Linked DNA regions of Homo sapiens: regions 2, 3, 4 and 5 are each linked to region 1. Evidence: promoter capture Hi-C in 16 types of primary human blood cells and fetal thymus (Javierre and others, 2016). All regions are on one chromosome and are shown on one strand. The core of a region is centred on a gene start or on the middle of the fragment in contact, and the rest is flanking DNA. Distances in the headings are between cores, read along the strand shown.

Region 1 (2,700 bases), core at 73-2,572:
ATAATAATGAACGGTATTGTATCGGAAACAACACAGTAAATATCTACAGAAGGGAATGTGACTGGTTCTGCCACTGACTAACGTCTGGGTTTGCGTCCCGGTCAGAAAAGTGGGCATGACAGCGGCATCTGCAAGATAGCATCTGAGCATGAAGGCACTTGGAAAGGTATCAAGGCAGCAAATGTTCCGGGGGTGCTTTTGCAAGAGGAGCCTCTCCCGGAGCTGGACGTACACTTCGGTTCCCTTTGCACGCAGGCACCTTGGTCGCCTCCCCCAACTCCGTCCCCTCTGCTCCTGGCCCTCATTTTCTTCTATTTCCCTTTTGGCCTTGCAGCCAGCTTTCTCCTCCCCCGACACACTCCTCAGGGGCTATGAAGTTCCTGAGCAGAGCAGGGCTCAGGTAAGCAGGCCCAGGGTAGTTCAGCCCTGCTCTCTCCAGCTCCGCCAGCTTGGGGTGGGGTCGCGCTGGGACCCCTGCAGGTGACAAAAATGACTCAGCAGGGGCCGGGGCTGGGATGAGAAAGGAACGCCAGTGCAGGGACAAAATCCCCTGAAGCGCGAAGAGGCCGCAAACCATCATCTTAAGGACCCAAACATCGAACAAATTAAAATGTAACAGTGTAAATCGGCTTCGGCCCGCCGGCGGCCTGTGCCGCCACAGGCTGCACATTTAGCCTAACAGGGCGGCCCGGCGGCTTTTGCAGGCAGAAAACGCCCGCGGCCTCTCCAAAAGCTCTCCTCCGTCTGAGACCAGCCCCACCTCGGCCCGACCGGGCCCCAGGAAAGGCCAGTCGGCTGGAGGAGAACATTTCAGGGGTGCAGAGAATTGCATGTCCGTGATTATCAGGGAGACTTTGAAGGCACAGTAATCTCTCGAGAACAGGAACCATTTTCCCCTCTTGCTCTGAGATTTTGCTTGGCTAAGCGGCGGCAGCCTCCCTGCCCCCCTCTCACCCCCACCACCGCTGCCGCTACAAGCAACCACGCCCCGCGGGCCCCAAGGCTCGCCGCCCCGGGGCTCGCGGCCCCCACTCAGCCGGCCAGCCGCGCCTCCATCAGCCCCGCCCTCGCGCGCCCCCATCCGCCCCGCCCCCTCGGGCCCTCATCCGCCCCGCCCCCGCGCGCCCCATCCGCCTCCGCGGCCGGCCCTGGGAGCGCCGGGCGAGCCCTCGCGCCTGCGCATCGCCAACTTCCTGCCGCGGCACGCTCCGCCCACCCCCAGAAGCCCGCCTCCGAACGCCGCGTGAAACCCGCCCGCCGCGCGTCATTGGTCTCGGCGCCGGAGCCGTTGGCTCCCAGACCCGCCTCTCCGCCTCCTCTCACTTTTCCCAGGGCGGATGCGCCTGCGCTCAGCTGCCTGGGCGGGCTGGGAGGCGCGGGTTGAAAAGTCTCGTTCCAAGTTTGGAGAGAGAGAGAAGAGCGCCTCAGACCTCGGTACCCGCGAGCGGGGAGGAGGCAGGAAAGAAGGACGCGGCGTCTGGGGAGCACCCAGGCAGCAAGACGGGGCCCGGGCTTTCGACAGTGGGGAGTGTGACGCGCTTGGGAAAGGCAGGAGCGCCAGCGGTCGGGCTGCTCTTGGCTAACGAGAGGAGTCCGAGGCGGCGGCGAGGGGCGAACGACCCGACGCAAGATGGCGAGTAAAGAGAGTAAGAGGCCCTGCGGGGCGGCGCGCGCCGGGGCCGCGGGGGGCGGCGGGCGCGCGAGGCCGCGGCACGCGCCGGCGAAAGGCGCGAATTGGCGTGCGGAGCAGGGGGCGGGGCCGGGCGCGAGACTGGGCGCGCGCCTCGAGGGGCCTGCGCGGGACGGGACCGCCGCGCCGAGGGCTCCGAGCACTTCCGGAGCCGGGCGCGGGGCCGAGGGCTGGGCCCCCCTCTTCCCTTCCCTCCTCCAGCGGCTGCGCTCCCTCCGGCGCCCTCGGCCCCGGGGCGGAGGCGGCCCCCGCCGCTGGGAAGCGAGCGCCGCGGCTCTTTCTACGCGCGCGCGCGCGTTGACCGCCTCGGGGTCGCGGCCCTTGTCCGGGGGTTGCTGGGGTCCTCAGGCCTATGGCTGCCGAGGCGGGCGTCGTGGGAGCTGGGGCCTCCCCTGATGGGGATTGGAGAGACCAGGCCTGTGGGCTTCTGCTACACGTGCATTTGTCTTCCCGACTGGGTCGCGCAGCCCCTGTACGTACAGGTCGTCATCTTAGAACAGGTGCGAACAGCTGTAACAGGGTAAACAATTTCCATGTCCGTGTAATTGACTACCCAACATGGTGTACGCAGGGGGTATTGATCTCAATGGAAAAAATAGGCTTCCTGATTGTTAGTATTTTCTCCACCTTCTGGAAGAGCAGTTAGTTGTCCGTGTCCAAATTAGAGGTAAAAGGAAAGAGTACATGAGGTGTGGCCATCTTGAGGTGACCTCCAATTTCTGACTTTGATCTATCTCAGCCACTTAATCGTGTGGGCTTTCTCCAAATTTCAGTGTTTGAAGATACTGTGGAGGAGCGTGTCATCAATGAAGAATATAAAATCTGGAAGAAGAATACACCGTTTCTATATGACCTGGTTATGACCCATGCTCTTCAGTGGCCCAGTCTTACCGTTCAGTGGCTTCCTGAAGTGACTAAGTAAGGGTTTCTGGCAACTTTTATTTTGTTTAAATTTAACTGTCGTTCTGAATTTCCTAGTTTTGGCGTTTTATGCATAGAACATAAGTATG
Region 2 (2,700 bases), core at 24-2,523, 1.1 Mb after region 1:
GATATTCTGATTTACTCAACTTGAGGTAGGACATAATTTTTTAAAGCTTTCTAGATGACTCTAATGTGCATCCAGGGTTGGGAACCACTGTTCTTAAAAAATGAAAAATGGTGTGAACGCTTAAATTCAAAAAGAAAAAGGAGAGAACCATAGAGAAGGATATATTTTCAAAGAAGAAGAAGAAGGAAAAAAACCTCACAGCATGGATACTTTTATGAATAAAGTAAAGCTGACAGATGACATATGGTTTCTGATTAAATACATCTGAATTTTACTATTCATATCCCTTTTCAGGATTAATAGGATGTTAAGGTTATGATTAGATCTTCTCTTCTGCAGAATATATGGTGATAATTATCAGATTTTGCCTCAGATGGACTCATTCACCATTAGGAATTATTTACCTACTTTAAGTTGTTCATTAATAAACAGGCCAAATTATAAAAATCACCATTACCTGGCATATAATAGGTGTTCGAAGACTTGCTAAATGACTGAAGAGATCAACACTAGGTTTCCACATGAACGTCTTCTTTCAAAAACATTGACCCAAAAGGGGCAGGGAACAAGAAGAGTGTCTCACAGAATAACATCAAGAGTCACAATAATGAAAATGCCAGCAAGCACTCCTGGGGCCCTGTTCTACGGGTGTGTGTGCTCATTTCGGCCTCACAGCCCCCTCAGAAAGATGAGACTATGTTTAATCCCATTTCATAGATGAGAGAACGAAGGCACACAGAGCTTAAGCAACTTTCCCAAACTGGCAGCCACTGAAGCCCGTTTTGAACCCAACGGTCTGTACCTGAGTCTGGGCACACTCACTGACAACAGAAATTAAAACACTTTTCCTCTCCTCATTTGGATCCTGTCTTTCACAGATATCCCTTTACACATGCCAAGTTTTGTTTTTTTTTTTCTTTTTTGAGACAGGGTCTTGTTTTGTCACCCAGGCTGGAGTGCAGTGGTGTGGTCATAGCTTACTGCAGCCTGGAACTCCTGGCACATGCCAAGTTTTAAAAGCCTGTTTTGGGGACAGTGTGTGCCCTTCAAAAAATAAAGCCAAGCTGCTCTAAGCTCTTCAAATATATTATTTCCCCAACCCAGTTGTCCACCATGGACTAATGCAAGCTCAGGAAGAAACCAACAAGCAAAGTGGCTTCCTAAAGATGCAGAATGCAAAGGAAGCACCCTCAGAGAACTAGGCTAAGCCCACCCAGGGAACAAGGATAGAGGGAACAGGGATGGTCAAAGCAGAGGATGATCAGCTGGGAAAACGAGAGCAGCAGCAAGAAGGCAGCAGATGTCTGATGACGGACATTTGAAATGGAAACATGCGCCTCTCCCAAAAGGGGAACTCAAAAACGTCAGCATTTTGAATCACTTCATTCTGACATGATAAAACAAAATTAGTTACCTATCTCCAAATCTGCAAGCTCCTGTTTTACTGTAGAAGGGACAATTAGCTCGATCCTTCTCCATTACTCTGAAATCCACGGGTGGTTCTGGGTTTTGCCATGTGGTACCATTTTCCAACTGTTGAAAATAACCATGACTTTACTGGTGGAGTAAAAACCCATGAAAGACGAAATGTTTCAAAGTATATTAAAATATTTTCCTCAAAGATAAACATTGTTTCATTTAATAATGCAAACATTTAAGTTGGAACAGGCAATCAAGACTTTACAAACAACGGTACTGAGACATGAGCTCCATGTCTCTCTTGGCTCCTGGTCACTTTCCTTTATCTGGTATCACTACTGCCACCAGGGGCAGTCGCCAAGGTTTCCATCCATTCTAAAAAGGGTCCAAGAAGGCCGGGTGCAGTGGCTCACGCCTGTAATCCCAGCACTTTGGGAGGCCGAGGTGGGTGGATCACCTGAGATCAGGAGTTCAAGACCAGCCTGACCAACATGGAGAAACCCCATCTCTACTAAAAATATAAAATTAGCTGGGCGTGGTGGTGCACACCTATAATCCCAGCTACTTGGGAGGCTGGGGCAGGAGAGTTGCTTGAACCCGGGAGGCGGAGGTTGCAGTGAGCCGAGATCATACCACTGTACTCCAGCCTGGGCAACAAGAGCAAAACTCCGTCTCAAAAAAAAAAAAAAGAAAAAAAGAGAAAAAAAAGGGTCCAAGAACTTATTAGGGAACCACCACAGACAGAAATAGAAGTTACTCTGATTCAAGGTAAACCGTCCACTGGAGGCTAACGGTATGTGATGTTGCTTAAACATACTGTAAGGACTCTAAACAGGTCCAGTCCACAGGGGTCATGAATACCATTTGTATTTGTTCATCAATAAAGTTTGTTGTTGTTGTATAAATCAAAGCATCATAAACATGAGTCCAGATATCCAAACATGATCTAACTAACCTACCACGAAACTAACATTACTGGAACTATTATTTCTAAGGAAACATTAATTGGTCTCAAATTATCAATGTAAGGTTTTAAAAATACCTCATTTTCAGCCTGATCCAGCATCTTCTGCAAAGCTTCCTAAAATGGTGCAAACACAGGACTAATAAAAACCCAGAAGTCAGGTAAGTCACATCTGGTTTCTCTGGTTAAGAATCTCAAGTGGAACAATTAAAACACACACACGCACACAAGTTCTAGTTTTCTTTTGAATCACAGATCTTTTGAAAAGCTTTCAAAGGATATATAGCTGAGACTTTTCTCTTTTTTTTTTGAGACAG
Region 3 (2,700 bases), core at 119-2,618, 1.1 Mb after region 1:
CTGTCAGTCATTTTTTGCCTGAAAAATGAATTCACAGAAATTGGTCCAAATACAGTCTATATAAATTACTGAGTTTATTTTTATACAAGTAGTTCTACTTCACCTTCTTCCACAAATGATTTGAGGCAGCGTCCTAAAATATAGACATTAGTAGATTTAAAAATAGGGGAAGGAACCAGTGAAAGGAGAGCTTAATGGAAGGAGAATGATGTGGCCAATGATAAGATTAACATTTAAGTTTGCACTCCATCAGATCCAGAACAGTTGTCAGAAGTAGGCCAGAAATTTGACCCTAACTAAGCTGTTGAATAGCCATAGAAAAGAGGAAATAGCAATCATTTTTAGGTTTTTACTGTTCATAAGATAAAAACTGGCTTTTTTTCTTTTCCCTTTTTTTTTTTTTTTTTTTTGAGACAGAGTTTTGCACTTGTTGCCCAGGCTGGAGTGCAATGGCGCGATCTCAGCTCACTGCAACCTTCGGCCCTCAGGTTCAAGCGATTCTCCTGCCTCAGCCTCCTGAGTAGCTGGAATTACAGGCATGCACCATCATGCCCGGCTAATTTTGTATTTTTAGTAGAGATGGGGTTTCTCCATGTTGGTCAGGCTGGTCTTGAACTCCCGACCTCAGGTGATCCACCCGCCTCGGCCTCCCAAAGTGCTGGGATTACAGGTGTGAGCCACTGCACCCGGCCTTTTTTTTTTTTTTTTTTTTTTTAATGGAATTTCACTCTTGTTGCCCAGGCTGGAGTGCAATGGCATGATCTCGGCTCACTGCAACCTCTGCCTCCCGGGTTCAAGTGATTCTCCTGCCTCAGCCTCCCAAATAGCTGGGATTACAGGCGCCCGCCACCATGCCCAGCTAATTTTTGTATTTTTAGTAGAGACGGGGTTTCACCATGCTGGCCAGGCTGGTCTCGAACTCCTGGCCTCAGGTGATCCACTTGCCTCAGCCTCCCAAAGTGCTGGGATTACAGGCGGGAGCCACCGTGCCCGGCTGTTTTGTTTTTATAGAAGCAGTTTTTCTTGAATTTTAGTCCTGAGAGAAATACAGTTTCCTCATAAAGATGATGTAGTGAGCCTAGTGGGAACTATGTGTCATAAGGAGTGACACCCAAATCCCCTCAATGGAAACTGTTGGCACAATCACAAAGCACAGTGCATTAAATCAATTCTATGAATTGGCCAGGCATAGTGGCTCAGGCCTGTAATCCCAGTAGTTTGGGAGGCTGAGGCAGGAGGATTGCATGAGCCCACGAGTTAGAGACCGGCCTGGACAACATGGTGAAGCCCCATCTCTACAAAATTAGCTGAGTGTGGTGATGTATGCTTGTAGTCCCAGCTACTTGGGAGGCTGAAGTGAGAGGATCATCTGAGCCTAGGGAGGCTGAGGCTGCAGTGAGCCGTGATCACACCACGGCATTACAGCCTGGGCAACAGACTGAGACCCTGTATCAAAAAAAAAAAAAATTCCATGAACCATCAACATATTTCTGTTCACTTGAATACACAAGCCCTCAATGGTCTGGCTTAATCCAGGGTAGCATTTAGATCATCTTTCCCCAGGATGGCAAATAGGTTTCAACTCACATGTTAACTCTGAACTATTTGTAGTAGCTGCCTGAATAACTATGTTGAGAAGTTTGGGGGCTTTGTCCAGGCTCAGAAAGAAAAAGTTCTGTACTCAGTTAACAATGCTGTGGGTGCAGGATAGGTAAGTGGCTGCATGCAATAACCTACCTGGTACCTCTGCTTTGTAGAAATAGAGGTCTTGCATGCAGAACTTTGTGCAGTCACTCAAAATCAACAATTCTCGTGGCCAGGCGCAGCAGCTCATGCCTGTAATCCCAGCACTTTGGGAGGCTGAGGCGGGCAGATCACCTGAGGTCAGGAGTTTGAGACCAGCCTGACCAACCTGGAGAAACCCCATCTCTACGAAAAATAGAAGATTATCCAGGCATGGTGGCACATGCCTGTAATCCCAGCTACTAGGGAGGCTGAGGCAGGAGAATTGCTTGAACCTGGGAGGCAGAGGTTGCAGTGAGCCGAGATTGCACCATTGCACTCCCGGCTGGGCAACAACAGCGAAACTCCGTCTCAAAAATAAATAAATAAATAAATAATTTCTCACCACAGGGTTTTTGATAAATACCAGAGTGTAGAGAGTTCCAGGTCCCTTTCTCACTCTGATCCACCTATACTGGTCTTCCCATGTTCATTCCTGTCTCTGAACATTTTCTTTTGTTGTTCCCATTGTTTGGACCACTCTTTACTCGGATCTTTACATGGCTGGAGTTTTCTCATTATTCAGTACTTAGCTAAAATGTCACCTCTTTAGATATGTTTTTCCTGACAACCATATCTGAAGTTGTATCCAGAGCCTCTCAATCTGCACTGTGCCCAGAGATCACCCGAAGATCATGTTACAATGCAGACTCTGATGCAGTGGTTCCGCGATGTGACTTGAGATTCTAGATTTCAAGCATGCTGCCAGGAGATGCAATCCTGAGGTTCTATAAGACACTCTGAGGCTGGCACGGTGGCTCATGCCTATAATCCCAGCACTTTGGGAGACCGAGGCAGGCAGATCACCTGAGGTCAGGAGTTCGAGACTGGCCTGGCCAACATGGCGAAACACTGTCTCTACTAAAAATACAAAAATTAGCTAGGCGCGGTGGTGGGCACCTGTAATCTCAGCTACTC
Region 4 (2,700 bases), core at 153-2,652, 1.1 Mb after region 1:
GTTCGAAACCAGCCTGGCCAACATGATGGGGTTTCACCCCATCTCTACTAAAAATACAAAAATTAGCCGGGTGTGGTTGCGCACGCCTGTAATCCCAGCTACTCGGGAGGCTGCAGCAGGAGAACTGCTTGAACCCAGGGGGCGGAGGCTGCAGTGAGCCAAGATCGTGCCACTGCACTCCAGCCTGGGCAACAGAGCGAGACTCCGTCTCAAAAAAAAAAAAAAAAAAAAAGAAAAGAAAAGAAAAAATTAGCCAGGTGTGGTGGTGAATGCCTGTAGTCCCAGCTACTAGGGAGGCTGAGGTGGGAGGACTGCTTGAGCCTGGGAGGTGGAGGCTGCTGTGAGCCGTGGTTGTGCACATCCCTCCTGGGCAACAGAACAAGACCCTGTCTCAAAAATAAATAAATGAGCTTCATAACTAGTATTATGTTGATATATATTTGAATAACATAATAATTTGGGTAAACCAAGGGTCTCATATTAGTCAAGTTTGAGAAAAACTTGCAAAACGTCTAATTAATACCTTCAACTCCTGCTGGTTTTACGAAGAAAAACATTCACCGAATACTTACTACGTGTGCAAGGACTGTGCTAGCTGCTGTAATTCATGAAGCTTGCAACTGTAATATTAGATACTTTATAAGTTACACAGAATCAGTGGGCGATCATTCACCAAGACTTCCTCTTCCTGCCTTTAGTATGTTAACATTGTTTCTGACATGTGTTTCTAAATAACTACTTGGGGGCAGAAGTCACAGCTATTTTTCCTCCGACACAATATTTGACTTCCTTCTGACACTGGGGCTTCAAGTTAGGGCTGGAGTGGACAGAGCAATTTCACAACACAGAAAACAGAATAAAGAGTCCATCACCTGAGTCTCTCAGTCGAGCAAGTTCCTGCCGACGTTTCTTTCGTTTCTCCTTCTTCAGGGCGGCCCTGTACTTTTTGTGGCTGGAAGATTAAGACATATACACGACGATCAGCGGCTACAATGCAGCGCTGCCCGAGCTCCCCGCTCCTCTGTGCCCAATGAAAGGAAATAGTTCGGGTGCTGAGGAGAGAAACCTTGCTTCCTGTATTTTAATTACAGAACAGCCATCTATCATCGCCTCATCCTCCCACTCCCAGACAGTTCTTCTCCATCCGCCAACCTGATCCTCTCCTCGCTTGCCTGAGCCACAGCCGCCCGTGCAAGTCCGGGGAGGGCACCAGAGCGCGCACCAGGAAGGAATGGAGCTGCCGCGGTGGCTCACTTAGCTTGGCCCAGCTTCTCTTTTCTTCCTGCCACCACATCCTCCATGCCCACGATCGGCCCGCTCGCCTGCTCATCTCCCCGTACGGCGCTTACCTTGGTTTCTCGGGAAACGTCATCTTCTCGGGCGCAGCCATCTTGCCGGCACCGCCCCGCCCCTCCAGGTCTGGCAGGAAAGGGCGGGCCTAAGAGTCGAGACGGGCACGCGCAGGCGCGGGTACCGAGCAACCTCCACCAGCGTGGGACTTGAAACGGAAAGCCGGAGGTACCCTTCGGCGGCTCGTCTTCCAGAACCCTGCTCAAATAAATACCTCCTTCCAGCAAAAATACTCTGGGGCTTTTACCCCGCCCTAGAAGTAATTGTCGCTTCAGCACTTGCCCAGTGCTGTATCACTGTCTCCCTCCTCGCCCTAGCAGGACGTGTTGTGGCTAGGCGGTTAAAGTCGTACTCTGCCGCTTTTCTCAGCATCCACTCATGAAGTCACATCGCGCACAGAGCTGCTCGCCCGGCTTTATTTCCGACCTGTCCAGGTTCCGCGTCCTTCCGCCGATCCACCTATCAGCGCCTCAGACAAAGCTCCAGACTTCGCTCCCTGCCAGTCACACCTGTTCTGGTCCCTTAAGCAAACCTAACTCCCAGGGCTGCAAAGCTGTTACCTCTGCCCCTGAGGAGTTTACAATCGAGGGGGCAGAGAAGAACCAATACATAATATGATGCAGGCAAAGATGAAGTTTACCTAACATAGTCCACCAAGGGATTCAGGGAGAGCTCTCTTTTTTTTCCTTTTTTCTTTTTTTTTCAGTATCACATGCGACTCAACTGCAGTATCAGGGACAGCTTTCTGATGCTAAGAGTTGAGTTTGGAAAGAAGATGCCCTTTACCCAGAAGGAGAAGGGTGGGAATGCAGTTACAGTCAGATCAGCATAAGCAAAGGCGCTGAAAGGTGAAAGTGGAATATGCTGGGAACAGCAAGAATTTTGGCAATCGAATTTATTTATTTATTCATTTCTTATATATTAGAGACAGGGTCTTGTCTTTCACCCAGGTTGGAGTGCAGTGGCGCAATCACGACTCGCTGCAGCTTCGACCTCCTGGGGTCAAGCAATCCTTCCACCTCAGCCTCCCGAGTAGCTGGGAATACAGGCGCGAGCCACCACGCCCGCCCAGCTATCCAATTTAAAGTGCAGTTCGAGGCTGGGTGCAGCGGCTCACGCCTGTAATCCCAGCACTTTGGGAGGCCTAGGCGGGTGGATCACCTGAGGTCAGGAGTTCGTCAGCCTGGCCAACATGGTGAAACCCCGTCTCTACTAAAAATACAAAATTAGCCGGGTGTGGTGGCACATGCCTGTAGTCCCAGCTACTCTGGAGGCTGAAACAGGAGAACTGCTTGAACCCAGGAGGTGGCGGCCGCAGTGAGCCGAGATGGCACCACTGCCCTCCAGCCT
Region 5 (2,700 bases), core at 133-2,632, 1.2 Mb after region 1:
GAAATGGGATCAAGTGCAGCCTGTGTAAATTACTGCATTGATTTTTATAGCATTATTTTCTCCCAGATGATTTGAGGCCGCGTACCAAAATATAGGCAACACTGTATAAAGTAAGTATTATAGTTTAAGGAACCAGAGGGGAAATTCATGGAGGGAGAATAAATAATGTAGCCAATGGTAAGATTAACACTCAAGTATGCACACTTTCAGATCCAGAACAGTTTTTGAAGGTGGGCAAGAGATCTCACTCTAAGCTTCCATAGAAAACAGGAGATAACAAGTATTTTAAAGTTTTACGGTGTTCATAAAAACCAATCAATCAGGATTTTGTTTGCTTTTGAGAAGCACTGTTTGTTTTTTTAAAAATAATTTTTAGCCCCAAGGCAAATCCCAGTTCCTCATCATGATGACGCTGTGAGCTACGTGGGAAATAAGTGTCATAAGTTGTTACACCCACATTCCCTCAATGGAAACTGTTGGCATAATCACAAAGCACAGGGCACTGAATCAATTTCATGAACCATCCAAAATTTCCTGTTCGACTGAGTACACAGCCCCACAATGGTCTGGTTTAATTCAGGGTAGCATTTAGATAATCTTTCCCCATAATGGCACATAAGTTTCAACTCACATGTCAACTCCCATTTATTCATATTAGTGGACTGAATAGCTCAGTTGGGGTGGCTGAGTCCATGCACAGAAGGAAAAAGTTCTGAAATAGATAAAAAATGTTTGTCATGGGTGTGGGATGAGCAAATGGCTGCAAACAACCTGTCATCTCTGATTTGTAGTAATAGGGATCTCTTGTGCACATCTTTTAGGCAGTCCACAAAAACATTTCTCATAAGACTTTTGATGAATTTCAGACAGTAGAGGGTTCAGGGTCATCACTGGCCGAAACGTAGGATCAGAAATTCTGAGATATTGATTAATTCATATGTCTTTAATATTAATGAGAGCATATAACCTAAAAGTTATGTGGTCTGATCCCGCCCCCGCCCCCACACCCTTTATAGAGGTTGGCAAAAGAAGTACCTGTTGTCAGGGCTAAATGTGACTAGGTGACCTCCAACTGGTGGGCAAATTGATGATTAAGGATGGAAAATACTATTTCATAGACCATGGCTGCAATACTGTTAGCCTAGTAAAAAGAGAAAATTGACTTGCCAAATCATGAGAAAACTCTTACACCTGAGCAACAGTGGAACCAGCTAAACCTGTAAAAGAAATGTCTTGCTTTAACTACATGAGACCCATTATAAAGCATTGGTCTCCATGCACAAGATGAAACACACAGACACACATACTTTTTTTTTCCCATTTAAGAAACTGTCCTTTAAATTGCTACTTTAGGAGCATAAAGTTGGCAGAATTACACTCACTCAGTTGATCTGAATTAATTTTTATTTCCAAACGGTAGTGATTAACTTTCTCTGAAGTAGAAAAATGTTAACTTGTGAAGAATAAGACAAAGTTCATAATGATTATGGCTACTGATTAACCTACAAAATTTGATGAGCTTTTCAAATATCCTTGCTTAATATGATTTCTCATCTTAAAAAGGGGATATATGTGATGGAGACAAAAATATTCCACATTATAGAGTTTCTTGCTTACCAAGGATACTGGAAATTGTGTGTGTGTGTGTGTGTGTGTGTGTGTGTGTGTGTGTGCGCGCATAAAATTAAGCATACCAAAAGATTGTAACATCATCTGTTCTATATTCTAAAATTATTATTAAAATAAGCTCATTTATCTTTTTATTAAGATGGCCAATGAAAAATAATTTCCTGTTTTTTGTAGTCATGGGCACGTAGTGGGCTGCCAGTCCAACAGCCTGTGATTAGTAAATAAAGGGCACATTGGAAACTCACTGTCAGGGAATGTCCTTCCCATCTCCCATTGTCCTTCTCTGTGTCATTTACAATGAACCCATTCCCACATTGAAATCTTCATTAGCCTCTCAGGACCATTGTTGGAGAATCCAGACTCTCTGACCTCTAAGATCAGAACCCAACTTGGCTTTTCAGATGCATCTACACTGATGCTCTCTCCCCCATCTTCCTCTGAACCACTCTACCAGCAAGTCCCTGCTGTTGGCCATATCCTGTATCTGTCCTTTGTGTTTGTTTTCAGATTTCCTTAACTTGTATCCTGTGGGCTTTCATGTTTTATCTTTAAACATCTTGCCATTGTTCCAGGTCTATCTTGATTATCATTGAGAAACCTTTCTTCTATTTTTCTTTTGTTAACAGTTTTATAATTGACTTGTCAAATCCAGTAACTTTTTATCCTCTTTTTCTCCAGTGTTCCTATAGCATTTTGTTCACAATTGTATGTGCATCTATTGCCATCGTGATTTACTTTTGTGTCCTACAAAATTGTAAGTTCCTGAAGGGCAGAGACTATATTTGGTTCATTTTTGCATTTCTCGTAGCCCATGAATATGATAGTTTAAGAAAACTGAGTTGACTAATTTGAATCATAAACTGAAGTTCTAATAAGCTTGTGACTGGAAATTAAGTACCATGAAATGCATTGCAATGTATATATTTTTACATTCTTAGCCTTAGAGAAACCACACACACACACACACACACACACACACACACACACACACACACACACACACACACACTTGTCTCCCTTTTTTCTTCTGTTCTTCCTTGTGTGGGTTATTTCCATTAACTCAACTACAAG

The links. The method cuts DNA at HindIII sites, captures the fragments that hold promoters and counts their contacts. A CHiCAGO score of 5 or more calls a contact.
Region 2: a fragment that was not itself captured here is called in contact with the fragment with the promoter of RBBP7 in region 1 in 1 of 17 cell types (activated CD4 T cells); the score reaches 5.3 in activated CD4 T cells.
Region 3: a contact is called between a fragment that was not itself captured here and the fragment with the promoter of RBBP7 in region 1, in 2 of 17 cell types (total CD8 T cells and naive CD8 T cells). The highest score is 6.6, in total CD8 T cells.
Region 4: a contact is called between the fragment with the promoter of ZRSR2 here and the fragment with the promoter of RBBP7 in region 1, in 4 of 17 cell types (non-activated CD4 T cells, total CD4 T cells, naive CD8 T cells and 1 more). The highest score is 7.1, in non-activated CD4 T cells.
Region 5: a fragment that was not itself captured here is called in contact with the fragment with the promoter of RBBP7 in region 1 in 6 of 17 cell types (non-activated CD4 T cells, total CD4 T cells, total CD8 T cells and 3 more); the score reaches 9.5 in non-activated CD4 T cells.

Annotation. Positions count from the first base shown.
Region 1 is chrX:16,868,984-16,871,683 of GRCh38, reverse strand. RBBP7 (RB binding protein 7, chromatin remodeling factor) reads left to right here and starts at 1,322. Exons shown (of 12, transcript NM_002893.4): 1 at 1,322-1,646; 2 at 2,464-2,608. The coding sequence starts at 1,631. RefSeq lists enhancers at 628-1,306, 2,316-2,405 and silencers at 1,046-1,355, 1,686-1,735, 1,756-2,095. The HindIII fragment of the contact is 7,607 bases long and covers 1-2,700 here.
Region 2 is chrX:15,808,033-15,810,732 of GRCh38, reverse strand. It overlaps ZRSR2 (zinc finger CCCH-type, RNA binding motif and serine/arginine rich 2), which reads right to left. Exons shown (of 11, transcript NM_005089.4): 6 at 2,462-2,500; 7 at 1,415-1,533. Among named protein-coding and RNA genes, the nearest start is that of ZRSR2, 19 kb to the right of the region's middle. The HindIII fragment of the contact is 2,450 bases long and covers 49-2,498 here.
Region 3 is chrX:15,734,147-15,736,846 of GRCh38, reverse strand. All of the region lies in intron 4 of CA5BP1-CA5B (CA5BP1-CA5B readthrough), which reads right to left. Among named protein-coding and RNA genes, the nearest start is that of CA5B, 2.8 kb to the left of the region's middle. The HindIII fragment of the contact is 3,678 bases long and covers 1-2,700 here.
Region 4 is chrX:15,789,186-15,791,885 of GRCh38, reverse strand. ZRSR2 (zinc finger CCCH-type, RNA binding motif and serine/arginine rich 2) reads right to left here and starts at 1,402. Exons shown (of 11, transcript NM_005089.4): 1 at 1,350-1,402; 2 at 873-952. The coding sequence starts at 1,390. RefSeq lists enhancers at 1-416, 1,075-1,524. The HindIII fragment of the contact is 2,263 bases long and covers 616-2,700 here.
Region 5 is chrX:15,670,818-15,673,517 of GRCh38, reverse strand. It overlaps a transcript of CLTRN not described here. Among named protein-coding and RNA genes, the nearest start is that of CA5BP1-CA5B, 3.3 kb to the left of the region's middle. The HindIII fragment of the contact is 2,251 bases long and covers 257-2,507 here.